Regions from separate parts of the Homo sapiens genome. Here regions 1, 2, 3, 5 and 6 are each linked to region 4. The links are contacts of gene promoters, found by promoter capture Hi-C in blood cells and fetal thymus (Javierre and others, 2016). All regions are on one chromosome and are shown on one strand. The core of a region is centred on a gene start or on the middle of the fragment in contact, and the rest is flanking DNA. Distances in the headings are between cores, read along the strand shown.

What was found. The method cuts DNA at HindIII sites, captures the fragments that hold promoters and counts their contacts. A CHiCAGO score of 5 or more calls a contact.
Region 1: a fragment that was not itself captured here is called in contact with the fragment with the promoter of ENC1 in region 4 in 1 of 17 cell types (neutrophils); the score reaches 5.7 in neutrophils.
Region 2: a contact is called between a fragment that was not itself captured here and the fragment with the promoter of ENC1 in region 4, in 1 of 17 cell types (neutrophils). The highest score is 5.3, in neutrophils.
Region 3: a contact is called between a fragment that was not itself captured here and the fragment with the promoter of ENC1 in region 4, in 1 of 17 cell types (M1 macrophages). The highest score is 5.9, in M1 macrophages.
Region 5: a contact is called between a fragment that was not itself captured here and the fragment with the promoter of ENC1 in region 4, in 1 of 17 cell types (neutrophils). The highest score is 5.5, in neutrophils.
Region 6: a fragment that was not itself captured here is called in contact with the fragment with the promoter of ENC1 in region 4 in 1 of 17 cell types (neutrophils); the score reaches 5.9 in neutrophils.

What each region holds. Positions count from the first base shown.
Region 1 is chr5:74,200,962-74,206,078 of GRCh38, reverse strand. No RefSeq gene overlaps it. Among named protein-coding and RNA genes, the nearest start is that of LINC02122, 100 kb to the right of the region's middle. RefSeq lists enhancers at 4,321-4,370, 4,391-4,460. The HindIII fragment of the contact is 1,364 bases long and covers 1,937-3,300 here.
Region 2 is chr5:74,228,903-74,234,017 of GRCh38, reverse strand. No RefSeq gene overlaps it. Among named protein-coding and RNA genes, the nearest start is that of LINC01335, 77 kb to the left of the region's middle. The HindIII fragment of the contact is 2,243 bases long and covers 2,722-4,964 here.
Region 3 is chr5:74,318,691-74,323,406 of GRCh38, reverse strand. LINC01333 (long intergenic non-protein coding RNA 1333) reads right to left here and starts at 1,820. Exons shown (of 5, transcript NR_197443.1): 1 at 1,550-1,820. The HindIII fragment of the contact is 1,130 bases long and covers 2,468-3,597 here.
Region 4 is chr5:74,637,424-74,642,244 of GRCh38, reverse strand. ENC1 (ectodermal-neural cortex 1) reads left to right here and starts at 1,517. Exons shown (of 3, transcript NM_003633.4): 1 at 1,517-1,938. It also overlaps a transcript of HEXB not described here. RefSeq lists enhancers at 1-531, 532-1,247, 1,709-2,068 and a silencer at 1,409-1,668. The HindIII fragment of the contact is 20,564 bases long and covers 1-4,821 here.
Region 5 is chr5:74,376,414-74,381,188 of GRCh38, reverse strand. The region is part of intron 2 of LINC01331 (long intergenic non-protein coding RNA 1331); the gene reads left to right. Among named protein-coding and RNA genes, the nearest start is that of LINC01333, 57 kb to the right of the region's middle. The HindIII fragment of the contact is 1,829 bases long and covers 1,287-3,115 here.
Region 6 is chr5:74,131,672-74,136,726 of GRCh38, reverse strand. No RefSeq gene overlaps it. Among named protein-coding and RNA genes, the nearest start is that of LINC02122, 31 kb to the right of the region's middle. The HindIII fragment of the contact is 5,195 bases long and covers 1-4,638 here.

The DNA.
Region 1 (5,117 bases), core at 1,369-3,868, 440 kb after region 4:
TTAACCTGTGTTTGGACAGCTTGGGCTGCTATAACAAAATACGATAGACTGGGTGACTTAAACAACAGATGTTTATTTCTCACAGTTCTGAAGGTTGAGAAGTCCAAGATCAGAGTACCAGCATGGTTGGGCTCTTGGTGACAGCCTTCTTCCTGGCTTATACACAGCTGTTTTTTCATTGTTGCCTCACATGGCAGAGAGAGAGAGAGGAAGAGAAAGAAAGAAGAGAGAGAGAAAAGGAGAGGTGGGAGAATAGAGTGAGCAAGCTCTGGTTTCTCTTCCTCTTCTTCTAAGGACACAAATCCCATCGTGGGATTCCCACTCTTGTGATTTCATCTATACCTAATTACCTTCCAAAGGCCCCGCCTCCAAATACCATCATATTGGGGGTTAGGCTTCAACATATGAATTTTGGGGGACATAGATATTCAGTCCATTACTTGGAAGCTGTTTACCACCTCCTCAAAGCTGAGCCAAACTAAGCCTCCCCAGTTGAAGTGGCCAGCACTCATGGGACTGAGTTTCTGAGAAGTGATGGGACTATCTTTGCATCTTCTGCTTCCAACGCTTTTGGATGTTTCTGTCTTAGTCTATTTGGGTGACTATAAAATAATATTATAAACTAGGTGGCTTATAAACAACATAAATTAGTTTTTTACAGTTTTGGAAGCTGAGAAGTCCACAATCAAGGTGCCAGCAGATACAGTGTCTGGTGAAAGCCTGCTTCCTTATACGTGATGCCTTCTTGCTGTGTCCTCACATGGTAAAAGAGGCACAATAGCTCCCTGGGACCTCTTTTATAAGGGTACTAGTCCCATTCACGAGGGCTGCAGCCTTATGACCTGATCATAGACCCCACCTAGTAGTATCATCACATTGTGATTACATTTCACCATTTGAATTTTGGGGGACATAACATTCAGCTATAGCAGTTTTCTTGCAGGGAAGGGGCATGAAAAAGAGGCTGAATGGGCAGTTACAGGCAGGAGCTGAGACGATAGCAACACCCATAAAACTAGAGGACACAAGCTTGGGTAAGGAAACAGAGAGAGCAGGGTTGGGGTGGTGGAAGGGAAAAAGAAAAAAAGGCTTACTGAAGATCAATTCACCAAGAAGGAAAAAATAGTTGGTGACTTAACTCTTTGTTTCTGGACTTATTATTATTATTATTTTTAATTGACATAATTGTCCATATTTTGGGAGTACAGTGTGATACTTTGATACATGTATAAAATGGGTAATGATGAAGTCAGGGTAATTAGCATATATCACCCCAAACATGTGTCATTTTTCTGTGTGAGGAACATTCAAAATCCCCTCTTCTAGCTATCTGAAAATACATAATACATTGTTGTTAATTATAGTTATCCTACATTGTTATGGAACCCTATAACTTATTCCTTCTACCTGGCTGTAATTTTGCACCTGTTTACCAGCTTCTGGCTATCTCTTTTTCTGAAAGTTCTGTTCAGAGGGTCAAAGGCATAGCTCACCTACCAAGGGGGTAGATGCACACTACCTCCCTATCTCTGTCTCCTAACCCTGTGAGCTTTACATCAGATTTTAGAAACTGGAATGTTGTCTCCAGAGAGTATGGCTCAGGATTTGCCTCCCTTGGGTCTCTGCAGAGAATGGTATGAATTCCCACTTCCATCCAAGTCTCCCACCCAAGCCAGAGCTCCTTGCTTCAAGTCTAAAAATACATTCCTATTGCACTTAAAATAAGATTTTGCCTTCACACTCTGATATTCCCACTTCCGTTAGTACATTCGGTAGTTGGGATGATAATTATATTCAATCTTCTTAAAGATAGATGAATTGAGCTTCACTCCAGCCTAAGGTTCCCATGTGACCTAGCATTAAACCCTGGCTTTACTCCCTGATTTATGCCCTTACCTTATAGATATGGGCTATTTTCCCCACAGGATCATAAGCTTCTCCAAGACAAGGAATAGGTCTTATTCGACTTTGGATCCCAGAACACAGCACAGTGCTTGGCACTCAGTAAGGGGCCAGTGACATGCTGAACAGAACTGAAATCAAGTTATTCTGATATAGCCCCTCTGGAGACCATTACACATATATCATCATGGGTTAAGAATTCAATGAGCTAGGTCACAATTCTGTCTTGCCAATATTGGGAATGTGTATATATATATATTATATATAATATATATATATATATTATATATTATATATTTTATATATATATATATATATATATATATTTTTACCCGATACAGATACTGAGAAAAAGTTTGGAGACCAGCTGTAAATAGAGTCAAGAGCATGCATATTCCTTCAGACTGCTGGGCTCCTCCAACTTCCAAGGGTCCAAGGCAGAGCCTGGGTATCCCAGGCAGCTACCCCTGAGGTGGGTATGAAGAGTCAGAGGTCAATCCCTTTGGAACCCAGGCCATGAAGCTGGGGAAGGTGCCCAGGTTGGAGTCCTTTCACACTGCTGTGAGCCAGGCTTTCTGCTGTCTTTAAACCTAGATGATTCAGGCTGCTGGCCTAGCCCCTCCAGATTCAAAGGCCCTTTGCCTGGGCTGGAACTGTCCTCACCGTCCATGGGTCATTAGGACGCTTCATCCTTTCATCTAGCCAACCAACATTTCCTGGACGTATGTTGCCTTCCTGCACTTCTGGGCCCAGCTCCTGAAGAGCTTGTGGCCGTGGTGGCCAGGAGGTGCAGGACCTCCTGCTTCTGAGACTGACCTCTTCCCGGGCTTTCTTCTCTGTCCAGGAAGGTGCCTATGCCCCTGCTGTGTGTCAACTCTGCTGTCTCTGCAGCCATCTCAGGAGTTCAGAGAGCTCATTTTCCCTCTTCTTATATCAAAGTTTCCTGTGTGTTAACAATGAAAGATACCAAAACTAGCTAATGAAAATTGTGGCCTAATATTTATATTTAAGAAAATGATTCATTTAATAAGAAATGTCACACTTTGCTGATGTTTATACACAAAACGCTATTAAAAATATTGGTCTGAAACAAGACATCAAAAATTTTGTAGCAAAATAATATAATTTAAAAATTGATAAAACAGAATATCATAACTATTATGATTTAAATCATTGTTACATTCTGTTCATAATCTATTAATTCTAAAAATAAACCAAAAATGGCCCATCACAGAAGGAAGTGTCACACAATATAAATGGGCTAATTACAAGATAATTTTAGGAAATGTAGAAAATATTAATTTATAGTGCCTTAGAGACAGTCTGGGTCTGGGAATTTAAAATTGAATGGTGACATCTTTCCATCCTCTAATTTTATCTCTGCTATACCCACAAGCTTAAAAGTTGAGGCTTTCTGTGACTGTGCGGCATAAGAACAATGGGTTTTTGCCCCTTCTTTGTCCCCTGAGATGGCATTATAAATAGGCCCTGCCCCCACCAACCCTGCCTCCAGGATGGCAGCCTGTGAATGCAGAACGCCTATAGCCTTCTAGCCGTGTCTGTGGCAAGGGCATGTGCCAGTGGGGAAGCACGAGCTTTGGACCTGAGGACATCTGGGACAGCTCTTGGTGTCAGTGCTCCACCCATGCCTGGGTCCCTCTACCATTGGCAAGCACCTGTCTAGTCTCATCCCAACAACCAGCTTCTGTTTCTCTTAGCCAGAGAATTTCCATGCTGTAAATGACATCAATGACTGCTGGAACCAATATGTTAGCAGAGTAGGAACATACCTGGAAGTTTACATTTTGCTGGGAGGTGTCCTCAACTAAGGACCTACTGTTGCAGGGGTATAAATATCCCCGCTGTCCTGCCTCCTGACTGGATCACTCTAAAGACTGACATTGTCTTCAGAGCCTACTTTCAGGCCTTTCCCTGACATTGCCTGTTTACTTGGTCTATTTCCCTTCCTGGCACCATGATTTGTGATGTGAGTGCTAGAAGAGGATTCAGAATTTGATTTTAATTACTCTTAGTGTCATCTCCTGACCATGGACATCTTAAGTGGTTTTTGTCAGTGTTTACTTTGAAAAGAGAAGTCCTGTCTCTCCCAGGGCCACTGTCTTCAGAGCCTCTGGGTTGGTGACAGGCTGCTGGGGCTGGGGTTCCCATGGGGGAGATGAGGCTGAGCCCAGAATGAGAATCAAATGGCCCTGCATTCAGGAAACTCTCAGAATTTGTCACCTTATATACAATATCTGTAGTCAAATCCAAGTGATTCATTTCCTTTTTCTGAAGCCACAGAGCTATAGGGATCCACTCTCATGCTTCCTCCCTAGCCGTCTTCATTTTCCTAGCCTCCTTCATTTCACTCACTTCATTCTTCCTAAACACAGTGAGATTCTTTTAGGTCAGCTGCCCTCAGCCTCTATTCTCTGGGGTCTTTAACATCTGCTTTGGGTTGCTACTTCAACTCCTGAAGAACTCCCCTTTGCTGTTAATTATAAATGCAGGTGGTATAAATAACCATTTGAAATGAGTCAGAGATGACCTGATAAAGTCCTCTGCATTGAGCAGGCTAGATGGCGCTGGAAAGAGAGGCTGGGCTGAGCAGGTGGTAGGAGAAGGTTCCCTTGGGTACAGGAAGTGGGAGTGGGAGGGCCGTGTGCCCAAGTGGAAAGAGCATTTCAAGAACAGCTTTGGCTCAATTGTGGCCGCAGAATCTGGCAAGCACACCACAGGCTTTGTTGCCTTCAGTGCCAAAAGCCAAGAAAACCAGCCCTTGCTGGCCTTGGAGCGAGCAGGGAGAAGAAAAATCCGAGGAATACATTGTCTGACTGTCGCCGTGGACAAGTGTTCCCGTGCAAGCAGATGACCTCTTTCCCGGAACAAAGCTCCATGTTTTAATAGCAGAAATCTCCCAGAAGGAAATGTCAAGGTAAACAAGTGTTGGGGCAGATTATACAGCGGACTCCTCCCGTCTAGAATTCTCTTTTTGGAAAGTGCTCTCTGAAGGGTTGTAGCCTCTATAGCATGAGCCCCCACAAAGATGGGTTTCTGTCCTCCAAGGAAAAGCATGTCAGGTAATCCCTGATGGAAAGGGGAACTTCAGAGGAACATAGGGATAGAGCTTTATTCCCAAGGGCAAAGCAGGCGGTGGCACGGAACAAATGCATGGGACCTCAGGGAGCCCTTTGTTTAGAGTAGCACTGAGGTGC
Region 2 (5,115 bases), core at 2,594-5,093, 410 kb after region 4:
TTTGCTGTTGTGGTCCCAGGTCAGAGAAGTGCCAGCAGTGCCTTTGCTTAAGCCTTTGAGAATGTTCTGCCATCCCTCTTCTGCATTTTGAAGAAACAGCTTCAAGGCACCTATTTTTAAAAGGACAGATAAATTGTTATATAATGGAGAACACTTTTCAGACCATTCAAGTCTTGGGGCCTGTTTTGGCTGAGACATGAGACAAAACTGTCCTCTTTGTGGGAACTAGTTCTCTTGTCCCTCTTGCCTTTTAAAGTCATTAACAGCACGCTAAGCAATTTGGAATGTCCAACCACTGACTCAGCTAGGTTTCATTGCTTTGTTTACTTTGCTTTACATCTTCAGCCTCTTCATATTGGCATTATGTAAAAGGCTTCTTCCTAAAAATATAGACATTTCAGTTGGATTTGAGCAACCCAGAAAAAGTTGTTTTCTTAATTTGGGAAAGATCCATTTGTCAGTGTTTTTGCCTATCTGTAGATGTACATGTTACTATACATTGGGTGATACACACACACAGTTCATTGGAGTTGGGGTTCATCATTCCACAAGCATAGATTGAGTTTAGAAACTACAGGAAGCCTTGGAAAGTATTCACCACTTTTAAGGTTTTGATACCTTGGTTCAGTTCCTAAGTGTTGGGAAGTTTCAAAGGGTAGGACAAACTGGGTGGGGGTGAGCAGTGGTGAGAATACAAGTCAAAAATAGAACAGGCAAGACTTAAGGACTAGAGTGGTGGAAAGGACAGAGGACCAAGGGTCAGGAGCCCTGGGGCTTCAGCCTGGTACTTCCATTAATTACTGGAATGAACTGGAACACATCCCCTCTGGGCTTCAGTGCCCTCATCTGTATAATGAGATAGTTGGTCTAGATTGGGGGTTGTTGGCCAACTATGGTCTGTGGGCCCAATTAGCCCCCAGCTTGCTACTGTAAGTGACATTGTGCTGGGACACGGCCATGGCCATTTGTTTAGATACTGGCAATGACTATTTTCTTGCTACAAAGGCAGAGTTGTGATAGAAACGTTATGACCCACAAAGTCTAAATATTCATCATCTGGTCCTTTAAGGAAAATGTTTGTTCAGTCTTGGTCTAAAGGATTTCCATCATTCGAGCTCTAAACTCTAATTTCTCTTTATCTTGAACTGATCTTTTTCTCTAAGCACTCTATGGGGAGACTATCTTTCTCACCAATTGGGTAAGTTCTTCTTTTCACTCTGAGGCCAGATACACATACTTGACAATAAATGGGACTTGAAGGCAAAAAATCAGATTCTCTAGGAAAAGGAAAACAAGATGGAAGATGATGCGAAAGATGAGGATTTGGAGGAGTTTGGCCAAATGAGAGAGGCGTGCTTAGCCACACTGGGCTGTACTCCCAAAAGCCCTCCTTCAGAATTCTTCAGGGGCAGCATCTGAGTCTCATACATAATGAAATTGGTCATGTAGCGGGGAAGTTCACACTCAGCAATGTTAATGGAATGAGGCTGGACCAGCTGGTTGGCAGGGGGGTTTCCCCTTTGGGAGATGCTACTGTGATTCATATGTGTGGGTTGACTACAAAGAAGTTCTGAGTAGGGAAAGGAGGGGACAGGAGAAGAAAAAAGAGAGAGAGAGGGAGGACAGGGATGGGCAAGTTAAGACACCACAAAGCAGCAAGCATTGAACAGGACAAGGGCTGTCTTTGTCCTAGGCATTCTGGGGGCACAAAGGAGAATGGGACATAGCCCCCATTGAGAAGCTAAGCTTTAGGCCAAAGGCTTAAAGACAAAGGCACAGCTTCCCGTGGGATGAGAAAAAGTACCCCCAGGAAGGGCAAACCAAGACAGATGGAATCACTTTTACAAAAAAAAAAAAAAAAAAAGAAAAATACCCAGACTGTCCAAGTCCCACATTTTATATCTAAATCCTAGCAAGGCCTGGAAATGCTAATGATAAAAATTTCGCTGAAAATACACACATTTCTATCTACTTCTCAACCTGGTAAACAGGGTCCTTCGTCATCTATTCCTTTCTTATCTCTCCAGCTTCATCACTCATCTCTGTACCATTTCTGCTCCATTCTTAGCCACACTGAACTGTTTCCTTTTCTTTTAATAGACCGAATCACCCCTGCCTCCCGGCCTTAGTCACTCCTGCTGCCACCTCTGGCTGGAGTTCCCTCCATGCTAAGTCTGCCCCACATCCCCTGCTGCTACTTGTCCTTCAGATCTCACTCAGTCCCTGCATCAGCTCCCCCAGGAAGCCTCCTCTGATCCCCAAGGCTAGGTCGGGTCTCTTCTTATATGTTATCACAATATTAGGTATATTTCCTATCACACTACTTGATAATTTCTTGTCCATCTTTCCCAGTTAGTTCAGGTTCCCTCTGTGGGGTCTCTCCTTGTGGGCTAGTTTGCACTTACTCACTGTGGCTTCAGAGCCGTCAGACTCTTACCTGGAGGACCAGGGATTCAAAGGCAAGTGTACCAAGAGGACCAGGAAGAAGCTTGGTGCCTTCTGATAACCCATCCTCTGAAGTCACACAGTGTCACCTCCTCTGTAATGCCAAGAATGCCCAGATTCAAGGGGAGAGAGCACAGACCCCACTTCTCCATGGGACTAGGGTCAAAGTCACATGGTAAGAAGAACATGTGGGACGGAAGATATTGATTATCTCTAGAATATACCCATGTGCCACACCGATGTTTCAGTGACATTTATGAGATACATTATAAAGCTTTTATTCCCTGTAAACACCTATGTGTTCTGGATACCTGTGAGTACATCTGAGGCTCTTAACACTCAGGATCTCTGTCACAATTCTAGCAGAAATCTCATCATTCTTTCAAAGCTATTTAGCACACACAGCGCTCAGTCTGGAATCTGAACTGACTCAGGGTATGTACTAGCCTATATTCCATCTATGAAATATACCACAAAACATGCAATCAATAGTGTAGCAAATGTCATGAGTGGTAGAAACCATAAAGAAAAAGACTGACAAGTTTAACTACAGACAAATTAAAATCTTTAGAAGTAAACCAAATTGAGAAAAATTAAAACTGAGAAACTTTTGTAACATTATGAAAGACAAATAATTGGTATTCTTAACACGAAGAAATTCTGCAACTAAATTAGAAAGGATAAACAGTCCAACAGGAAAAATATGAGGATATAATTTCTTTAACAAAAGTAATAATGCACCATTTTATATTTGCCTATCAAATAAAAACAATGAGTCACCATTTCATTTTTGCCTATCAAATTGGTAAAGAGTAAAAAGAATTCTAATGCCCACATTGTCTGGAGCCTGGGGAAATGGACTCTCACACACCGCTGGAGGAAGAAACAGTACTTTTCTGGAGAGCAATTTGGCAATAGGTGTGGAAAGCCTTTGAAAAGATATGCCCTTTGATCCAGCAATTTTTTATATGGGGGTTTATCCCATGATGGTAACAGGGCATGAGCACAAAAATGTTTGGACAGAAATATTATTTTCAGTATTGTTTATATTAGAAAAATCTGGGATTAACAGGGTCAAGTAACAATGAAATACTTTGCCACTTTAAAATTTATTTCATATTTCATATATTAGGTTGGTGCATGTATGTATATGCATATATATATATATTTATATATAAATTTTTTTCCACAAATGCAAAGGCATTTATAATATATTTTTAGGTGAAAGAGCATAGGATAGTTTCAAAACAGCAAATATGTAATTCTATATATGTGTATATGTGTATATCTTTAGGAGAACAATAAAAGGATGAAATGCCATACATCTAAGTATCATCAGAGGCTACCTCTGCAAAGTATGATTATGGATGGTCTGCTATAAAGTCTTCTTAATCAGTGCATCTCACACGGTTTGGCTGTGTCCCCACCCAAACCTCATCTTGAATTGTAGCTCCTATAATTCCCGCATGTTGTGGGAGGAACCCAGTGGGAGATAATTGAATCATAGGGGCTGTTTCCCCCATACTGTTCTCATGTAGTGAATAAGTCTCACAAGATCTGATGGTTTTTATAAGGGGTTTCCCCTTTCACTTCGTTCTCATTCTCTCTCTTGCCTGCCTCCATGTAAGATGTGCCTTTCGCCTTCCGCCATGATTGTAAGCCACGTGGAACTGTGAGTCCATTAAACCTCTTTCTTTTGAAATTACCCAGTCTTGGGTATGTCTTTATTAGTGGCAAAAAAAGGGACTAATACAGTATCCAGAGCTTTCTTTGAAATGAACCTATCCATGCTATTTTTAAAAACTCTGAACATTAATGTGACCTTCACCTTTTTCCAAATGTCTGTTAAATTACACAATGGATATATTCTAATTGTAAAAGTTCAAGCAATATAGTAAATATAATAGCATAAATACATAATTTATATTAATGTGTATTATATAATATATAGTATAAATATAAATATGCACTATAAAGGAAAATCCTCCTTTACCGTTATTTTTCAAAGAAAAAAATTAGGCCAGCTTCCATCCCTCACCATTTATAAACACAACCCAGACTTAGTTAAATGCACACCAATGGATTTAGTATCTGAACACAATTTAATAACTGACTATTATTTCAGTTTAATGGGCCCAAGTCGGGAAACCACACAGTCACGGAAGAGGCAGGGCCCAGCTAACTCCGACTAGTGTGCCCATGATGAAATGCCTTTGCCCAGGAGAAGCACTGAGAAACTGGGCTGGTCATATTTTAATATTCCACCCAAGGAGTGCAAGAAGGTAACCTGAGGCATGGAGAGCTCCACCCAGGGCCCAACCCTGGTTTTTAAAGGTGGGCTGTGGTTCTGAAGGCCAGACCAAGGGGCATTGCTTAAATGTCAACTTTAGGAGTGAAATGTGTTCTCCTAAGGCTGTTGATGCTGTAAAAGTCCAGCCAAATTGCACTTTTGATTAGACCTGAGCTGTTTTTATAAAGCTGTGACAAAAACCATTAGTAAGTAAGACTTAAAGAAAGCTTTTATTTCTTCTCATTTATCCCCCTTGCCTTCACATTTACAAAGCTTACAAGGAAAAAAGCCTGCCAGCGTGAATTTCCTCTGTTTCACTATTGCCTGTGAAAAGCATTTTAGGTCCACCGGTAAGAATCTGTTTGTGTAGGTAATTTCTT
Region 3 (4,716 bases), core at 1,783-4,282, 320 kb after region 4:
ATCCTTCTTTCATCCATTTGTTCTTTCAGAAATTTACTGGGGAATCAGCTATAAACAAGGGTTTGTATTTTGTATAGTGGAAGGAATACAAAGAAGTAAAAGAAATAACCCTACCAAGAAGGAGTTGATAGCTACTAAGAAGGAGTACACTTTTACAAACAAAGTAACTGACCTGCAGAAAGAGAACCTGCAGAAAGTGCTAGAATCAGCCAAGAAAGTGCTAGAATCAGCCAAGACTTCTAATTGGCAAGCCGAAGCCCTCCCCATAAACAACCCCCTACTGGTTGAATACTGAGGTGACACACTCAGTTGCATCAGCTCTAAGATTCAGGTCAATGTCTCTTATTATTTTGAATGGCATCTGATTATAGATTAATACGTGTTTTGTCTAAGGTTACCTTGAAGTGTCTTCGTTTGTCCTCATGGAAGTGACTGAGCATGCTTGATTTTTTTCCATGTTGCTTAGCTTTCAGATACAAATTAAGCAATATATTGTATTCCTTCTGTCTAACCATGTGGTTGGTATAATTTCTCCACAGACAGCTGAATTCAACAGCCTGTGTGTAGTGATTCAACATAAGTAAGGACAAAACGGTAGGTGGTAAAGGTTGTCAGAAGGACACCTGGGCCTTCACTAGGTGCTGCCACTAAAGCCAGGCCATCAGATATGGCAAACCTCAGGGTGCTGCCAAATCTTACAGACCAAATTCTTTTCACCTGGGAATTTTACCCATTCATCAGACCCAATATTTCTCCTAAGTCAGGAGACACGATGAGAATTTTATCAAATCAATTCTGCAGTTAGTAACTTGACTACCATCTAGCATGTTATTCTAGCCATCTATCCATTTCTTCAAATCATAGACTATTTCAGGATATTTCCCCAATCATACTCGGATCTCAAATGATAGGCTGAACTCACTCTGCCTCTTTTGAGTGACCACTGTGCTCAACAGAAGCACTGATGTTACCATGGTTTCCTTAGTGACAGAGATATTACAAAGGGGAGAGTATGGTTGAGGAGGCAAAGCATGAAAGGGAAAAGGGGCCTTGATATTCCTGTGTGCAGAGTGCTAGCCAGACTTCACTGCCTCACACTGGGGACAGTTGTCCAGCTCATGAAAGATTGCTGTCAGGGGATAAAAGCCTCGTTTGGCTCACTTAAGATTTGTGAAGTATGTTCTGTGCATCAGGCATTTTACCATTTTAATTTCCAGAAAAGACAGCTAATTTTTCCTGTGCATCTGGGATGTTCCCCCAGGATAGCAGAGATGAGAAGGCAGTTTTGTGGTGCCACAGTTGTATATGGGCTTAATTTGAAATGATTAGTTTCATTAGCCTTGATATTCTAATTGTATCTCTACATTTCACCATCTTGCATAGAGAATATGCAAAACAAAGGGCTATTGAGCCAGGGTTGGAAGGAGCCCTGATTTCGATTGTTTCTCATTTTCCTTTTGGTTTTCAATAGAAATCAATCCCTAGTGTTCAGTAAGGCCTCCGAGCCATTGGAGCCATTTAGCAGAGCCCTGCTAGGGTGTGCGCTTACCTGGACAGGTTCCTGACTAGTCATCCACTGCTGTCAGGACTTAAGGATGATGCTTATCAAGGTTCTTCTTATGCTGCTAGAGAAACTGCCACCTATTTCTCAGAGATTCTTTCCTGGGTAGAGGTACCTAAATGTTGCCCCAAGTTCCATGGAGTGTGATAGCCACCAGATTTGACTTCAATAATATTCTTCATCTCAGAAGCCGGGGTGACTGGGCAACTTGTAACATTTTGTGTTTGTAAGGTGGTGGGATTTTATAGAATAATGAATCTTCACAGAGCCCTGGGTTGCTAGGGAACCTCGATTTAGTTCCACTTTGGAATGAGGAAAATATGAAAAGAAAAAGAGAAGTAAATTTCTTAGAATTTCCCCACTCATGTTTCAGTGCTGATACAGAATTCCAGAATGACTGAGTATCCTAAGCCCATGTCAGTTATCTCTCAAGGTTGAAAGGAGAAACCCGGCGAAAGGATAGGGCAGTAAAAGAGAACTGAGGTGGCTGTTTGAAAGGGGCCATGTCTCCTCGGAGACACGTGTCTCTCTAGGAGGATCACTATACCGCATTGTTTCTCCATGGCTCTCATGTACTCTTTTGAGACCTTAGTGTGCTGTTTCTAGATCAACAATTTATGATATTTATTGAGCACCTGCAATGTGTCCAGCTTTGTGCTTGGTGATGTGAAGGCAAGAGATGTAAGGACCTGGTTTCTAATCTTCAAAAAAGTCTACACTGTGGTTGAAGTGGTGAGGTTTATTCAACTAAATTAATTTAGAAACTATATCAGATAGATAACATATAGAAGCTTATGCTACCTGTTTGCGGGTCAGAGGTTCCTTTCTTGCCATTGGAAAAGAGAAAGGAGAGAAAACACCAAGTGTCAGAGTCACTGGGAAAGGCTTCTAGAAGGAGGAAAAGCTTAAATTGTGGAAAAGAATAAGAAAGTCTGATAGGTCCCTGATATTTGTGAGCTTCTAATTACACCAATATCATGATAATTTCTTCCACAACAGAAACACAAAGAGAGTTTTTGCCTCCGAAATGACAAGCAGAGAACCACAAGGCAATGTTGAGATGCAGAGGGTGGCAGTTTCCCTCCTAGCAGAGTGACTCACTCATGCCTCCACTCCAGGGTGCAGGGCTTAGATTCATGACAGGTAAGAACAGGCCATAGGCCTTACAGGTGGCTTTCGAATACATGAAACCAGGGATCTACTGTATTTCAAGATGGGGAGATTTAGCATGAGGCACAGAGGTGAGACTGGTGAAGAATCTGTTCCAGCTAGGATGAAAGTTCGTGGAAGGAAGCAACAGGAACAGGGTCTGCTCGTAAAGGGTATTGAGGTTAGACCCGGTGCAATGATTCAAGAGGAATTCTTATATCTTATTGGACAAGCTAAAGATACGGGATAAGGGCTGTTTTAGAAACACTTCAATGGGAGTGGCATAGGAAAGAATTGGAGGGGAAGGAAAAACTAGAATCAAGGAGATGAGTTAGAATGTAGATTTTATGAGAGGATGGAGATTGCACTGGCAGAAAAGAAAGGGCAAGTCAGCAAGATTCTGCAAATAATAGGCTTTGGTGATAAATTTTCATAGACTATGAGGAAGGAGATGAAGAAAAAGGAGGGTAAGAAAAGACGGTCTTAGCGATACTCCACAACTTCCCGATACTCCGTTGTCTAAAGTAGTTTCTCCACTGTGCATGTGTGCTGGGTGATGCTTCACATGCAAAACACTCCGTGGGCCCATGGTTGTAGTTCTCTTTTTTGAAAAATTACAAACATTTAAAATTGTGGTAAAATGTACATAGCATTAAATTGATCATATTAGCCATTTTTGAGTTATACAGTGCGGTAGTGTCAAATACATTCATATTGTTGTGTAGCCAGTCTCCAGAACCGTTTTCATCTTGCAAAACAGAAACTCGGTACCCATTAAACAACAACTTCACATTATCAACCACCCCTCTCCTTTCTGTCTGTAACTCTCATACAGTATTTTTCCTTTTATGACTGGCTTATCTTACTTAACATCATGTCCTCAAGCTTCATCCATATTGTTGTGTGTGTCAGAATTTCCTCCTTTTTTAAGGCCGAATAATATTCTGTTGTACATATGTACCACATTTTGTTTATTCATTCATCCACGGGTGGACATTTGGGTTACTTCCACCAATTGGCTATTGTGAATAATACTGCTATAAATGTGGGTGTTCAAATATTTCTTCAAGACCTTGCTTTCAATTCTTTTGGGTATATACCCAGAAATGGAATTGTTACATCATATGGTGATTCTATTTTCAATTTTTTGAGGAGCCACCATATTGCTTTTCAGAGTGGCTGCAGCATTTAACATTCCCACCAGCAGTGCACAGGCATTTCGAATTTCTCCATATTCTCACTTTATTTTCTGTTTTGTTGTTTTTCGTATTTTTTGCTTGTTGTTGTAGTCATCCTGATAGTTGTGAGGTGGCCCGTGGTTGGATTTTGAAGGTATGTCATTCCACTCACTGGGTGTAATTCTGTCTCTTTTTCTGTCATTTAAGAAAACACACTGGAATACATGAGTTTATGAATGACTTTGAAATGGTGAGAATATTGAGTCAGCTCTAGTTTGTCTTTTGTAATGGAACTCATTCTGACACCTTGGTATTCTATCATGAGTAACAACTTATTTGTGACACTCCCTATGACTTACTGAGACTCATCAGTGAGTCCTGACGTCACAGTTGAGAACCACTCCTCACTGAATTGAGTTTACAATACAAAATATTTCTTCATAAACACCCAATGAAAACAGCACGTTCCCCCCGGAATCAGTGCTACCAAAAGTAAGGAAAAAGCAAAAGTAAAAAGGAAAGCCAGTCATGTAACAAGATTTTATTTCCTCCCAAGTGGCTTTATCAGAGACACTTATCAGAAACAATGCCTCTCTCCATTTACAGAAACTCTGAAATCCAAGGTTTGAAACCTGAGGCCGAAGTACCTATCACTCCTCTCTTAGGTAGATGGTTAGTGGTTCCCACCTGTCCGACTTGGTCATGTGGCAGCATCTAGAAAGGCAAAGCTATAACAATGAACAAGAGTGTTTTCTTTTTTTTTTTCTGAGGTTTCATTTACACCAACAGGCTTTGTTCAGTTTAAGGAAAAAAAAAATTTTTCCAGCA
Region 4 (4,821 bases), core at 268-2,767:
GAGGCTGCCGAGTTAATGCTAACAAAGGACTTCAGAGGGCACTGTCTTTCTTTGTTTGCAAGGAGCGAAATTTCTCGGCGCAAATACCAGGAAGGAACAAGGATAAAGGAAAATGAAATTAGAATGAAGAACTGACAGTCTTGGTTTCAGCAGTCTGGACTCTGGAAGCGCCATGTGGGGCCTCCTTAGCCAGTTTAAATCGCTCCTGCGCCTAGTGTTTTAAAGCAAGCTGGGAGGCGAAGCGCGGGCGCTTGGGGACGCGGGGACCCGGGGACGGAATAAACTCTGTCGTGGGGCCCTCACTCTCGAGCTGCAGAGCTGGGACATTGTTGCTAAGTGACTACGAGCCAGGCAATTCACATCTCCCTGGGCCTCGGTTCCCCACCTGTAAAACAAGGGGGCTGGACCGGTCATCTATCCCGTTCATTTATAGACTTAGCTCCAAATACCGAATAAAAGACAGATATTTTAACTCCCAGTGGAAAGACAAGCCTCTAGTTGCAAAGATAAATGGGATTCGTAAAAGTGATCACCACGCGAGATTATTTTTCGAATCGCCTTCCCTTCTCCTGACACGCGGGACTATTAAACGTGTGTGTGTGCTGGGCCATTTCTTTACTGAACTCCAAACTAACACCACCGAGCGATAAAAAACAGGAGAAGGTGATGGAGGCTTAATCGCTAGGAGAGGAGGCGGCGTGGCTGCTGCTTTGAGGAGTTCACTTTGAATCAAGCGGCCGCGGCGATTGGCTGAAAAGCACGTGGTGCGCGCCCCGCAGGACTGCGCCCCGGCTGCCCCTGCAGTCGCCTGGCTTAGGGCAGAGTCCAGCCGGGGGTGCCGCACCCACTGGGGAGTGGGGAGGGAGGACACATAGGAAATGCCTGGGGCTGGAGTCTCTTTGGCTCTCTGCCAGCAAGAAACTTAAACGTCCTGGCTTGCTCAACCCGAGTGTCCCTAAACTGTCCAGACTTTTGCCCGTCCATTGCCACTATCTCTCCCCACTCTGGGTGTCCTACCCAAGGCGCTGTCTATGCGTGCCCAGGGCCTGTCCTGCGGATACCCAGCTCGCCCCTTGCAGCCCTTTTTAGAGCATCTCGCGGGCTCTGGCATCACCAAGCGCACAGCCCCGGGCTGCGCTCCCCTAAGGTGGGTCCCTCAGATCCGGGGCTGTCCATTAACCAGGCTGGCCCAAAGAGGCGCAGACACTCGAACCCGGGAAAACTTATTTTATTCTCGGTTCCCGGGGTTGCAGCTGCCAGCGGCTGAGACAGTGCGTCCGCTTTGTCTCTCTGCACTCCCCGCAGCCCCCCTCTCCCGCTTCCTCTCCCGATTAACTCCCCCGACACGCTCTTCTCTAGCTCCTCTCCTCCTCCCACTCCTTCTCCTCCTCTTCCTCCTCCTACACCACAGGCCGCGCTAATGCGCTTCCTCCCTCCCCCGGTGTCGGTCTCTTTGCATACGCGCCCCCTCCCCTCCCCGCCGCGCCACTTATAGCGGGGCGCACGGCGGCGGGGCGCAGACTGCTCTGGCAGCCGGAGAGGAGGCGGTGCGGCGGTGGCGCTGCGGAGACCCGGTCCAGACGCCTGGCGGCCGCCGGCACACAAGGCGCTTTCTAGCTCCCTCCCCCGAGCGCACAGCCCGCCTCCTTCCGCGGCGCCTGCAGTGGCAGGCTTGCTCTGCCCTACCGTGACGCGCTCCGGAGACGCTCTGCGGGTCCTGGACACCGGGTCCGCGGCGTGGGGACGACAGACGGAGGCGAACGCCATCGGTAGCCGGTCCGCGAGCCATCGTTCGGGGCGCAGTCCTCTCCCCGGCTGGCCCTCCTTTCTCCGGGGCATTCGCCACCGCTTCCCTGGGCTGAGACGACCGGTTCGTCGCCTCCTTGCCCGTGACCGTCGCTAGAACTCAGTTGTGCGTTGCGGCCAGTCGCCACTGCTGTAAGTTTCCCCCACTGCCCCGGACCTGTTGCAGGCGCTGCGGGCTTCAGGGGCTGCTTCGGCTGCAGGGGTGTGTTCGCGAGGGGTGAGCGTGCTCCGAGCACTCGGGAGCTTCGACTAGAGGGCAAGGGGAGCTCTTCTCGGTGCGGAGATCACGGTGCCCGCCGCTGCCCTCCCACAGCAGGCAGAAGCCGGGCATCGCCGGAGAGGTCGACCGGCCTCCCCTCCGCGGTGCAATGTCTGGGGCGAGCCGCTGGGGAAGCGAGGAGCCGAGCTAAGGATACAGTCAGCCTCTCTCCTCTGCGGAAAGCAGCGCTTTCCTGGGGGTGAATGTCGCGCTGCGTCGCTCCCCGCAGCCTCCAGGGCCGAGCGCGCGGGATGGTTGGCCCACGTTGCATCCTCCCCGGCTTGGAGGAAAGTTGGGGCCATGCACAGACACCCTGAGTGCGGGCATGTTCACTGCGGCGGAAATGTCTATAGAGAATGAATGAAAACTGCTTTCTGAAAAACTAGTTTCTTGATCTGTCGTGTTAACATTATTAGTTACAAAGGATAGGAATTGGTGGGCCTGGAGATGAAACACTGAATTTATCCACATGCGGTTTGGTGTCACACAGGCATGGCCAGCTTGTTAAATAGCGTTGCAAGTGTTAATAAAAAGACTCTGGCAAGAAGCTACTTTTGTTAACAAGATCTTTATAATGTTCTATTGTTACCGGTAATGTAAATGCCCAGAAAAAAATCTGCTTAGTTTCTCTTTTGATTGGATTGAGATCAGGTTCAAAACCTGGAGAAGGGTGCGGGACGCTAAGCATTGGAGGCAGAGAGCCTGAGTTAGGAGCATGAAGTGAACTGAAGTTACTGTAACTGAAGCCCTTTTGATGTTCACAGTAATAGCAGCCCTTTCTCTGTCTTCTTTGCAGACGTAGGTTAAGTACATGTGTGCATTTTCTTGGCCACTTACTTGGTATGCAAATGTGATTTCTCTGGGGGCTTAAAAATGCTCGAAAGATGATTCATTTTATGTTGAAGGTGTGTTCAGTGACTTGTATACATGGTTTCTGCTGATATTTTGAGGTTTGCACAGTTTTAAACCAGAAAGCAAGTATTTCCTCTTGGGTTTCCAAGTTTACTTTTTATTTTAATCAAACATTGTTGCAAGAATGTTGATTGTGATTTTGACTGTGACGTGCTTTTCCATCTGGGTGGTATCCAAGATGACAGGCTAGGCTCTTCCTTCTGGCTTGTTGGGCCAACCTGGAACATACAGGAGCATAAACACAGGATGCGGAGAGATGTAGATCCTATATCCTAAGGTCTTCTAAGCAAATTGTTTTCTTAGGTGTAAGTCTGGTTGTGAATGTTGTTTTGCACCATCCTGAATTTAATGTTCAAGGAAATGTGTTCTGGGCCTAGCATGATTCCAGCTCAATGTGTAAGCATTTTGGTGCCTGTGCACCTAGTTTCAGGGAGCCTCATTCTTCCTTCACTCAGGGCAGCATTTGCTCTGAGAGAGGCGGCAGATTCACAAGAGTAAGTAGACAGTCTATTGAGGTTTAGGTTTAAAGTCTTCCTCCAGATACTCCAGATTGAATGTACTAATTAAAATAGCAACTACAGTGGTGGAGCATTGAGAATGCTAATGAATGTTTTAACCCTTTGGAAACCTGATGCATTCCCATAGGTTCATATGGTCATTCTCCAAAACACTGGGCATTGGTTAGAATGGAGTAGACAGTAGATGCTTAGCTTGAGGTGGGAGTGAAGCTGGCTCCTCACCATTTTTTATATCTCAAGTCACTGTGGAAATTACTGGGTGCTTTGTAAAGTCTTCCTAACACTGGAGCTCTAGGACTTTGTTGCTTCCTTTCTTCCACTCAGCCATGTTTACTCATCATAAAAAATTATATTCCAAAAAGGAAAGAAAACTAGTTGCATCACCTAATGGTATGAGGTATATGTGTCATGCCCCTGCCTTTGTGGTTTTCTGTGCAGTCTTATAGTGGGGCTCACATCTGGTTGGGGAGGTGCAGGTTAGTATTTTAGCCCATGAATCTGTGGCAAATCATTCATTTGCATTTATTAATAATTCTTAGAATATGCATTTAAAAATGTCTGAATGGTTAAAGGAAACAGAGTTTCAGCTGCGCTTTTGGGACTGGCTGTTATGTGTCTGGAACAGATACTGCAACCAGCCACACAGTTTACCCTCTGGGGATAAACAGCGGGATAAACAGCTTCCTTAGGAATCCTTGGACAGGCAGGTTCTTGAGGACTTCATTCCTTTGAAGTAACAGAGGGATGGTGTAAAAGAAAAGGATGAAGGCATGTGATTCAGTTTTTGAAGATGGGTGACAAGCATTTCCTATGTCTCTACCCTACTGTTTTCTTACTGAAGAAAACCAAAAGATAGCATTAGATTCTACTATAATTTCAATGTAGATACCAAGGAAAGCACTGTAGTCAGCAAATAAATTCTGGGGTGGCCCTAAATTAACAACAGCTGGCAAAATACACACACACACACACACACACACACACACACACACACGTATTTTTTGATTTAAATAAAGCAGTGTTTGCATTTTGAACTCCTTCTATGCAGGTGTCAGCATTTGCAGGTATACAGGAACAGTCCTAGTGATGCACTATTTAATCAAAAGACGGATGGATCTTTTGTTCTTGCAGCTGGTTTTCCAAGAATTGATATAAAGCGGGAAGAACAGAAAACAGCAGTCATAAGTATGCTACTCAAAATATTCTTCTTTTTATGTGCCAAATCCTCACATTGGAAGCTGTCCCGAGCAAGACAGGTAGTTGGTGATTATGGCCAGAATTTATTCTGTGCTTTGACTAAAGGCTTGCTGATCAATATATGGTTAA
Region 5 (4,775 bases), core at 952-3,451, 260 kb after region 4:
CCTCAGCCTCCCGAGAGCTGGGATTACAGGATCCCACCACCATACCCAGCTAATTTTGTATGTTTAGTAGAGACAGGGTTTTGCCATGTTGGCCAGGCTGGTCTCCAACACCTGACCTCAGGTGTTCCTCCCACCTTGGCCTCCCAAAGTGCTGGGATCATAGGCATGAACCACTGCACCCAGCCCTGTCATCAATACTTAATTGGAGCCGGAAAGGAAGGTATCATTAACTCACTGCTCGGGCATGGAAATTAAGAGAAAAGTAACTTGTCCAGGCTCACAGGGCAAGTTGGTGGCAAAGTGGGGACTGCAGCCAAAGTCTCCTGGCTCCTAGTACAGTGTTTTCTATTGGAAAAAGCAGTGTTTAGTGATGCTTATTAGCTATTGGCATCCTTCATGAAGATGGTAACATCTCTGGTCCATCAGGAGGGAGGTACATTGTGCTTTCTTCAGTAGACACTCATATGTAGGTTATTCTTCAGTTTGTAACTGCCCACAGCACCTGTTATGCCAAGTTATTCTTACCTTGCCTGCTGGATTTTCTGGACAACCCATAACCTTTGCTAGAAAGAAGCCTGCACGTGTTCTATTTCTGGAGCTTCGCTAGTCTGCCAGCAGTACTCAGGTCCCCAGGGTACCTACCTATTTCAAGTTGCTTGAAGGTGTGCTTCTGGGCACCTGGGAAGTGCGTTGGACCCCTAGAATGTACCTGCCCTGGCTGATACTTAATATGAAAGCTGCCTCGTTACTACTGTCCTTATCAGCTCAGTACCCAGGGAGGTGTCCAGGCCTGGACATTGCTCCTCAAACAATAGTTTGGTTTCATTCCAGGAGCTTTTGTTGTTGCCGTCTTATTGGCTGTTATTTGGAAAGCTTAGAGATGAGGCTAGTTTAACAAGTCAAGAGTCGCTGTGAAATATCTATTTTGCTGCCCTGTAAAAACAGAATACATTCTCTGATTTTGACTGTGGTGAGGAGCTTGATGCTGGATTGATGCTACAACAACTTCAAAGTACTGGCTTTCTTGAAGGTACAAAGAGTTGAAGCTATCACCATTTAGCTTTTAGATAATCTGCACATTTTGTTCTTCCCTGCTGCTCAATTGCCAGAGTTTAATAAGGATGCCTTAGAACACATGATCTCTCCTTGCAGTTTAAATCAATCACCCATTAATTGACACACAAACCTCTCTAGAAAGAGCTCATCTTCTTGGTTTCTGGGAATGTGACCTGGTTCTCTGTTCAGGTATAGGGTCACCTTTGTTCTCTCTGTTTGTTTCCCAAGCTTTAGGTAAAACTTCTAACCAGGCATGGTTTGTCTTCAGCTCTATTTAATTTGTTTCAGAGGCTTCTAATCTACTTTAGATCTTTCCCTTTCTCCCTCCAAACTTCAATTTGAGAATGAATTCCTACTGCAATAATATTAAGGGTGGGGCCTTTAGGAGGTGATTAGATCATGAAGACTCTGCCCTCATGAATGGGATTCGTGCCCTTATACAAGGGCTTAAGGGAATCTGTTTGTCCCTTTTCGTCCTTCCATCATGTGAGAACACAGCATTTGCTCTTTCTGCCACGTGAGTTTGCAGCAAAAAGGCACTTACCAGACAGCAAATGCTGGTGTTTTTATCTTGGACTCCCCAGCCTCCAGAACTGTAAGAAACAAATTTCTGTTTTTTATAAATTACCAAGTCTAAGGTATTTTGTTGTAGTAGCAGAAATAGACTAAGTCTCATTCATAGACCCGGTGCTTTCCAGCTGCTCAAAATTATTTGCTGTGCAGTCCTAACTGGGTCCGCATTTGATGGCATCTGTGGGTCATTACAAGGTTTCTTTCCCTCTCAAAATTCTCCTAACTTCTCTTGGAAGCCCTGCCCTTTCTGTTTATAATAAACAACTTCTCTTTTAAAAAAAGATAGCCATTATGATGATTACTATCAACACTATTATACCACCACCATTACCCCCTACTCTTTGCCAAGCCCTGAGAACACACAAAAATATAAAAAGACTCTCTGCCCTGGGAGAGTTTCTAATCTGGGTGCAGGAATATAAACACTATTGATCACAAGTCAATTCCTGTCTTACTTCTAGGATAAAATGCTTATGCATTCCAATAGGAAATATAAGAGCATGATGCCTTAGCCCATGGTACTTTTGAGAGGCCAATGAAGAGATATTCAGAAAAGGCAGGGACCCTGAAAAAATCATATCACATCAATGGGTATCTACAAAAGCCTACCTTTAAAATCTTCTCTACCACCTGTTTCCAGCTGATGGCCCTGTGATTGTCCATAGTAAAACCACACAGGGTGTATTTGGGGGTGGCCTTTTTTGTTGTGGGGGTGATTCTGTGAGTGTTGCTGTAGCTCACCCTAAATTACTCATGTCCATCCTAAAGCACAGCGGAAGAGATGTACATGACTGTCAGACCAGAGCTTCTGCCAAGCAGAGGCAGGATGCAACAAGACACTTGAAAGCAGAAATCTTCCTGTTTCTGTAACATTTCCAGCTGGAAAACCAATCAGAGCCACACATTCCAGCTACACTTGGGAAACACTGAAATATCCAAGTAGTAATCACCTAGGTATGCTGCTAACTGCAGCTCAAAATAATTCTGGGGTTGCCAGTGCCATGTACCTTGTAGGCTTCCAATTACCTGTGCTCACTTCTCTCTTTTCTCCAAGGACCAATTATTGGGGGAATTTGGCATTTCTCCTCCTCTCTGCTTCAGCCATTCAAAGAAAGATTGTTATACACCAGAATGTCTGACCATTTTAATTAAGCCAGTCAAAGGTAGGTGCTGAAACAGTTTAGCCCCCGAAGCAAGGATTAAACACTTAAGGTTGAGGAACATAGAGGTTAGTTAGTGTCAAAGAGTTGGAAGAGACCCTAGAGTAGGATGACCATACATTTCAGTTTAACCTGAAAGCCCCTGTCTCGGTGTAATTATTATCACTTCTTTTCTCTCAAAAGTGCTCAGTTGGGACAAAAATGATATAGCTACTTTGCCTTAAAGATTATCTAGTCTGCCTTTCAGTTTGGTTCAAATTTAATGTAGAAATTATCTTTCTGTGAATGATGGAGACTTGGGAGATGTAAAAAAATAAAAAAAAGCTTTTATTTTATTTAAACCTTAAATAAACCTATTTATTTTTATTAAAATCTTTCTGTTTTCTCTTCCTTTCAAACACATGGTCATCTGTTTGCTATTAACCACCAGTAATGGGGGACTCATACTTTGCAAGGAATCTCTAATTAATGAGTTCTCAGTTCTGCATCAAAATCTTCCTTCCTCTGGCTTCACCCTTTGATTCTAGTTCCTTCTTCTGAAACAATCTAGAGTAAATTTCTTCTCTCTTCCACAAAATATTTTCCATTTTGGTATATTTGTGGTGTCTTTTTCAAGAAAATAATCATGTTTACTTCACTTCCTTTTTTGAAATTCGAAGGAAACTGATCTGATTTTGGACTGAGATACCTTATTTTATTTTTTATTTTTTTGAGACAAGGTCTCGCTGTGTCACCCAGGCTGGAGGGCAGTGGTGTGATCAGAGCTCTCTGCAGCCTTGCCCTCCCGGACTTAAGTGATCCTCCTACCTCAGCCTCCCGAGTACCTGGGACTACAGGAGCATGCCACCATGCCCAGTTGATTTTAAAAATTTTAGTTAGCAAATAGCTCTTGCTATGTTGCCTGGGCTGGGCTGGTCCTGAACTCCTGAGCTCAAGCAATCCTCCCAACTCAGCTTCCTAAAGTGTTGGGATTGCAGGCATGAGCCATCTCGCCCAACTGGACTGATATGTCTTAAAGACAAAAGCAAGAATTTTGCTAAGCTCTATTATAGAACTCCTAGGTACATGCCCAATTGTTTGGAGATTGTAGGTAAGATCATGCAGGAGTTACCAACAAAATAACAATGCCAGCATCCTGTAGTGAAAACTTCTTTATGACATTGTTTTATGAATGCAGGTGAATGACCTAGATAATGTCTCTAAAACTTTACAGGCAGGACATAAGCATAACATGAAGAAACAAGGCTCTCTTTAAAGACTATTCCAAGCTAATGATGGAAGCAAGATTCATAGGTTTTGTTTAAAAAGAAAATGTATTTTATTATTGTAAAAATAACACAGGATGATTGTTGAAGATTTACTACACCTCAAAAAAAAGAAAAAAAGAAAAAGACTACCATCAGAGATAATATTCCATGTCCAGTTGATTTTTAAAAATTTTTTGATGTACGTCCTTTTTTTCTTTTCTCTATGTGGATATACTTGATAAATAATTTAACAAAATAAGAATCATATTGATATAGAGTTTGCTCTACTTTTGTATTAATATTAGATAACAATTATTCCACTGCACCATTAAATAAGCCTTAACATTTGATTTTATGGTTTCAAAAGACTCAACAATATATATTTTGTACTTTTCCAAACATCTATTGTTAGAGATTGAGGTTATTTTTAACTACTCCTCTAATGCTGCAGGCTACATCCTCAATCCTTGCCTGCTTCACTGATTATTTCCTTAGGATAGACTCCTAGAAGAGATTCTGGTTAAATAATTTTATTAGTTGTTTGGGGTGTCATAACAAAATACTGCAGATCTGGTGGCTTAAACAACAGAAATTTATTTTCTCACAGGTCTTGAGGTTGGAAGTCCCAGAACAAGGTGCCAGTCCTGGTGAGGGCTCTCTTCCTGGTTTGCAGATGGCAGCCTTCTTGCTGTATTCTCACACGGTGGAGGGAGAGCTCTGGTATCTCTTCCTCTTCTTA
Region 6 (5,055 bases), core at 792-3,291, 510 kb after region 4:
GAAATTCTGGCTCCACTCTGTGCATGCTGGAGGACAATTTACAGCAGTCAGTAAGGCAGCCAGAAAAAGTTCAGGTTTTCTTTCCTATGTATGTACACAGCATGATCACTTGGATAACTGAAGACTATTTTTTCCTTTTGGCCAAACTTGAACATATAAGAAAAACAAGTGGAATTTAAAAAAATCAGTGACCAAGTCAGCAATGAAAAACAGCTCTCAGGTGGCAGGTTGGCAGGCTGCCTTGTTCCAGGCGCCAAATATGGAGGGATTGACCAGGTGGCAGCTGCCAGGCTGTTCCCCAAAATGGGACAATCTAAAGAGTACAGTTTGATCTTGGGGCCTGATTCTCTTCTCTAAGCTGCAGCACAAGCATAGTCGGGGTGGGCTGCAAGATAGCTGTTGGGGACATTATGATTCCACCTTGGAATCTGCTCAATGCCAAACCAACTGAGTGCACCAGCAAAGCCAGCCCCAATTTGCACTTCTTATCATATATTCTACAAAGTTCTTCTGAATATTAAGCAAAAATTCATAAGACCCTTTTATGTCACGTGCCACTGTCTTTTCCATTGGGCCAGAAAGGGAAGTGTCTGTTTCAAAGTATTATGTGAATCAAATTAAATGACACTACTTATCCAAAGGCTAGTGTCCCACAAATTGAACCATCCAGCACACTAATGAGAAACCAGAAAGAACTGAAGAGTTCTCAGTACCTAAAAATTCATATTACATGCTGCATGCACTGAAATTTATAAAAAATGAATCGTGGATGAGACCCTGTGCCCTTGTTCAGAGCTTATGCTGTAAACATAATTCTACTTGTTTCATTGGTTTGGAATATGAGGACAAGGAAAAGAGAGGAGCTAAAGAAGATAAGTAGGCATCAACTGCCAGAATGTAAACTCCATAAGGGCAAAGACTTGCTCTCTTTGTCCACTGCCAAAGTCCCAGGACTTACATTAGTGTTGGTCACAGAGTGGGTGCTAAGTACTATCTGCTGTTAGTTAATGAGAGCAAAGGAAAACATTGGCTTTTAGGGACAGTCAGCTAGAGAACCATAGAAAAAAGAGGGAGAGGAAGCAGAAAGAGGGGGACCTCACAGAGCACAGTAGTCTAACAGCTTAAGGGAACATGAAACAACTCTACTTTGAAAGTGCTTGATAACATCATTCTTATAGCTTAGATAATGGTGGTGATGATGGCTATTTATCAAAACCCTAAATCAAGACATCAAACTGAATAAGTCAAAATGCTTTCACCATCCTCTTTCCAAGGCACAGAAAAATGCAAAATATTTGAAGTATTTTCCAAAAATGTTTGTAAATGTTTTAAAACCTAAGTTTAAATTTTTACATTCACAATGTAAAATACAACTTGCCCAAAGACAGCAGATATAGCTAATTAAAAAGTTATATTACCAAAGGCACATATAGTACCTGTTACATCATTGACTTGTATATAGTGAAAAGGGTCACACCCCCTGACACACCCTTAGTATTTTGTACAGTGTGGCCCTATGTAATATGGCTGACCTCTAAGAGGTGTGAACAGTGCTGTGTCCTACAAGGGACTGAAGGTTTCTCTGAACATCGCATGTATGGAGCAAGTTCCTGAATTTCTTTGAACCAATGTGGGATATCATGTGCTATCAAAAGCCAGAGGTCTGGAAATGGAGGAAATTTCTCAATGTTAAATTATAGGTTGAGCTGGTTTTGATTTTTTGCTTTGGGCTTTGCTTTCTCTGATGAATGCTAATGATACTTGAAAGAAAATTTTAATAGAAAAATTTTTATGTTAAAAAAATCTGGTTGGGCGCAGTGGCTCACGCCTGTAATCCCAACACTTCGGGAGGCCGAGGCAGGCAGATCATGAGGTCAGGAGATCGAGACCATCCTGCTCTACTAAAAACACAAAAATTAGCCAGACATGGTGGCGGGCACCTGCAGTCCCAGCTAGTCAGGAGGCTGAGGCAGGAGCTTGCAGTGAGCCGAGATTGCGCCACTGCACTCCAGCCTGGATGACAGAGCGAGACTGTCTCAAAAATAAAAATATGAATTATTTTGAATCCCTGGAATGAATTATTTTGAATCCCTGGAAAGAACAAGCAGACATTAACATCTAAAAACCCCCCTAGGTTCTGTTACAGAACACAGAGGGGCAAATATGTGAGTATTGTCCTCAGTTTACCAATAAGTCTTGGTTTACTAACAGTTTAGGAATATCTCAAAGAGTCAGTCGCAGGGCAATGTGAGGGGAAGCACAGTACTAAGAAACACATTTCCTAAATAGCAGTTTGATATGAGTTTTGCCTATATATATCCTAAAAATATCCCTTGGAAAATCTGAAAAATCAAGCATTTATTTGTCCGAAATTGGAGTGAAAGAATGGGTGAGCCTAGAGGACCCCCGTGGGTGAGTGGAGCAGCCTCTCCAGGCTTCAGTATTTCCGTGGTAGGGAGGGGAGAGTGGGGACTGATTGGAAGCCATTTGTCTAGGAACCTGGAATACTGGAAAATAAAAGTGATTGTGGGCATCTTGGAAGTGGGATCCTGTCCCCTAACTGAAAGCGGGAGAGAGAGAGAAGGGCCTTGGTGCCAGGACCATAAGGATGGCTGCAGAGATTGTAGGCCTCTGTTCCCTTACTCTGCCCAGTGCCTTCTTTCCTCAAGGGAAGTGCCTCACACCACTCCATATGGCCCTGGAGGGGCTGAACTTGGGTTCTTTCTCGTCTAGTTTGAGATTTCCCAGAAGCAAACCCTGAGACAAGGATTTGAGTGCAAGCAGACACTGGGAAGAGTGGAGACCTGACGGGAGTAGGAAGAAATCCAGTAAAGGCTGTGTCTTGAAGCTGGTTACCACTGTGAGCAAGGAGCTCAAACCTGCTGGGGAAGCCAGGGGAGCAATGTAAAGCATGAGGCTATCGCTAGCCCAGACGAGGGCCAAGAAAGTTGGGGTCTTTATACACCAACTCCCTGGTGGAGGGCTGATCCCAGGCACTTCTGGCCAATCTTGCAAACAGGCCAGACAGCAGAGCCCTTAGGCAAAGAGACATGGGGCTGACACTTGGATGTGTGGCAGGTGAGCACGAAAACAGGAAAGAGTAAGGGGATGATGTTGGAGTACTGACAGCATCTTGCTCCACCCACTCTCTTCCCCTGCTAGACCCTGGGTCCACTAGAGCACAGGCGATTGGGCTGGCTTGGGCACATGACCCATGCAGTGCCAGAGCAAGTCCTCTGGTTTCTGTGCATGGAAAGATAGATGCTGTCTCACCACTGTGGTTGCTGAGTGAGACCATGTCAGCCTAGAGTTGCTGCTTATGCACCTTCCTTGGTCCCATTGGAAAGCTCAGTTGCAGGAGGAAAGAACGAGGCCAACAGACAAAAGAAAGATGGAAAACGAGAGAAAGAGAAGACAAATCACTACATGATTTTCATCTGAACCCTTGAATCCAGCTTTACCTGAAGCCATCTTCACTTCGGAGTATCCTAAATATGAACCAATACATCCCTTTTGTCTTTTTGCTTAAGCCAGTTATTTGTAACCAAAAGAGTTTGGCCTAATATAGGGATGAGTGTCTCCTGCCTTTTTCTTCCTCTGCAACACACACAGAGAAGGGAGTCTTTGGTATATCGCTGAATTACATACCTGGAAGAAAACTGAGCCAGCTACCTCTAATCATGTCATCTGAAAGTGGTTAAGTAGTGTGTCCTGAATTGAAAACAGGGGGCAGGGGGGACAGGGACACTGCACTGTGACAATGAGTCCCCCAAGGAAGTTAAAGGATGCCCTGGAAAGGAATTGAGAAAACACCAGATTCCATTCTGAGCCAAAGCAGAAAAAATAATTAGGGATTATATTCAATTCCCTGATTGTTGAGAGGACAGAGCTGACATAGCCAGTAGGAAGGAATTAAGGAAGAGTAGAGCAAGGCCTTGAATCAGGCAGAAGGGGCAGGGCGGGAAGAACTGGGGTGCACATTGCATGGGGAGCAGCACTTTTGCAGGACGTGGAGATTCACGCATAGGACAGCTGAGAGGCTACCCAGGGCCACAGCCCCAAAGGCCGGCTGGGCATTCAAGGTACATGGCACAGAGTAGGTGGCTGATTCCCTGTAGGTGTTGCTGTGCTTATTGGTGGAGGACACCAGAGTGCAAGGTGGCAGAGGATACCAACAGTATGAGCAGCTTTGGCAGAGCCCTGGACACAGGCTTCAGCAGAGGTAAACACAGGAAGGGTCAGGGTGCACTGGTGAGATAAAGCCTGTTCTTACCACCTCCCAAAAGCCAATTTTTAAATTTTCAGAAATTCTGTGAGAACGTCTGAAAATTTCTGTAACACAGTAATTACTATAATTAAACAGTTAAGTCATACTAAGAACAAAGCTCAAATACTTAAAACTCATCTTCTAATTATTTTACTATTCTCTATATTCTTGAGGTTATTTCTTTTGTATCTGCATGGCAAAAATACTATATAACTGTGTGCTACTGCTCACCTCTTAACTCTGTTTAGTGGTGTTATTGGTGGCTTGCCAAGATGAGACTAGAGATTTTATAAGACATTAATAAGGGCTTAATTTATTGTTGATTGTTTAACATTTTTCATCACGTCCTTAATTCTAATGTGAGTGAAGCTTAAAAGCAAGTTATGTCTGTAGTCGTTAACATTGTGGATGGCACAAAACACTGGCAGAATATGCTTCCAGTATTGGAAAGCCATAATCGGATTCATTCAGCAAAGAGAGCACTCTCAAATCTAGTGGTGTGCTGGTAAATGGTTTACAATCGGCTCTCCCAAGAAAAAAATATGTGCATATGTATATAACTTTAAATTTTACTGGTGTAAAGGATATGTAGCTCACAGTTTAAGAAAAACAATAAAATACTCAATATTCTTCTAAATTCCATAAAGCCAATTCTCAGATTGCATTTTGCTTTTTATGAACGCATATCTTTCTATATTCAACCTACAATATAACTGTGTAACAATGCAAGTATGGTTTCTACATGAATATTGACCATATTCTTCTCTTAGGGTTGAGTATGATGAAAG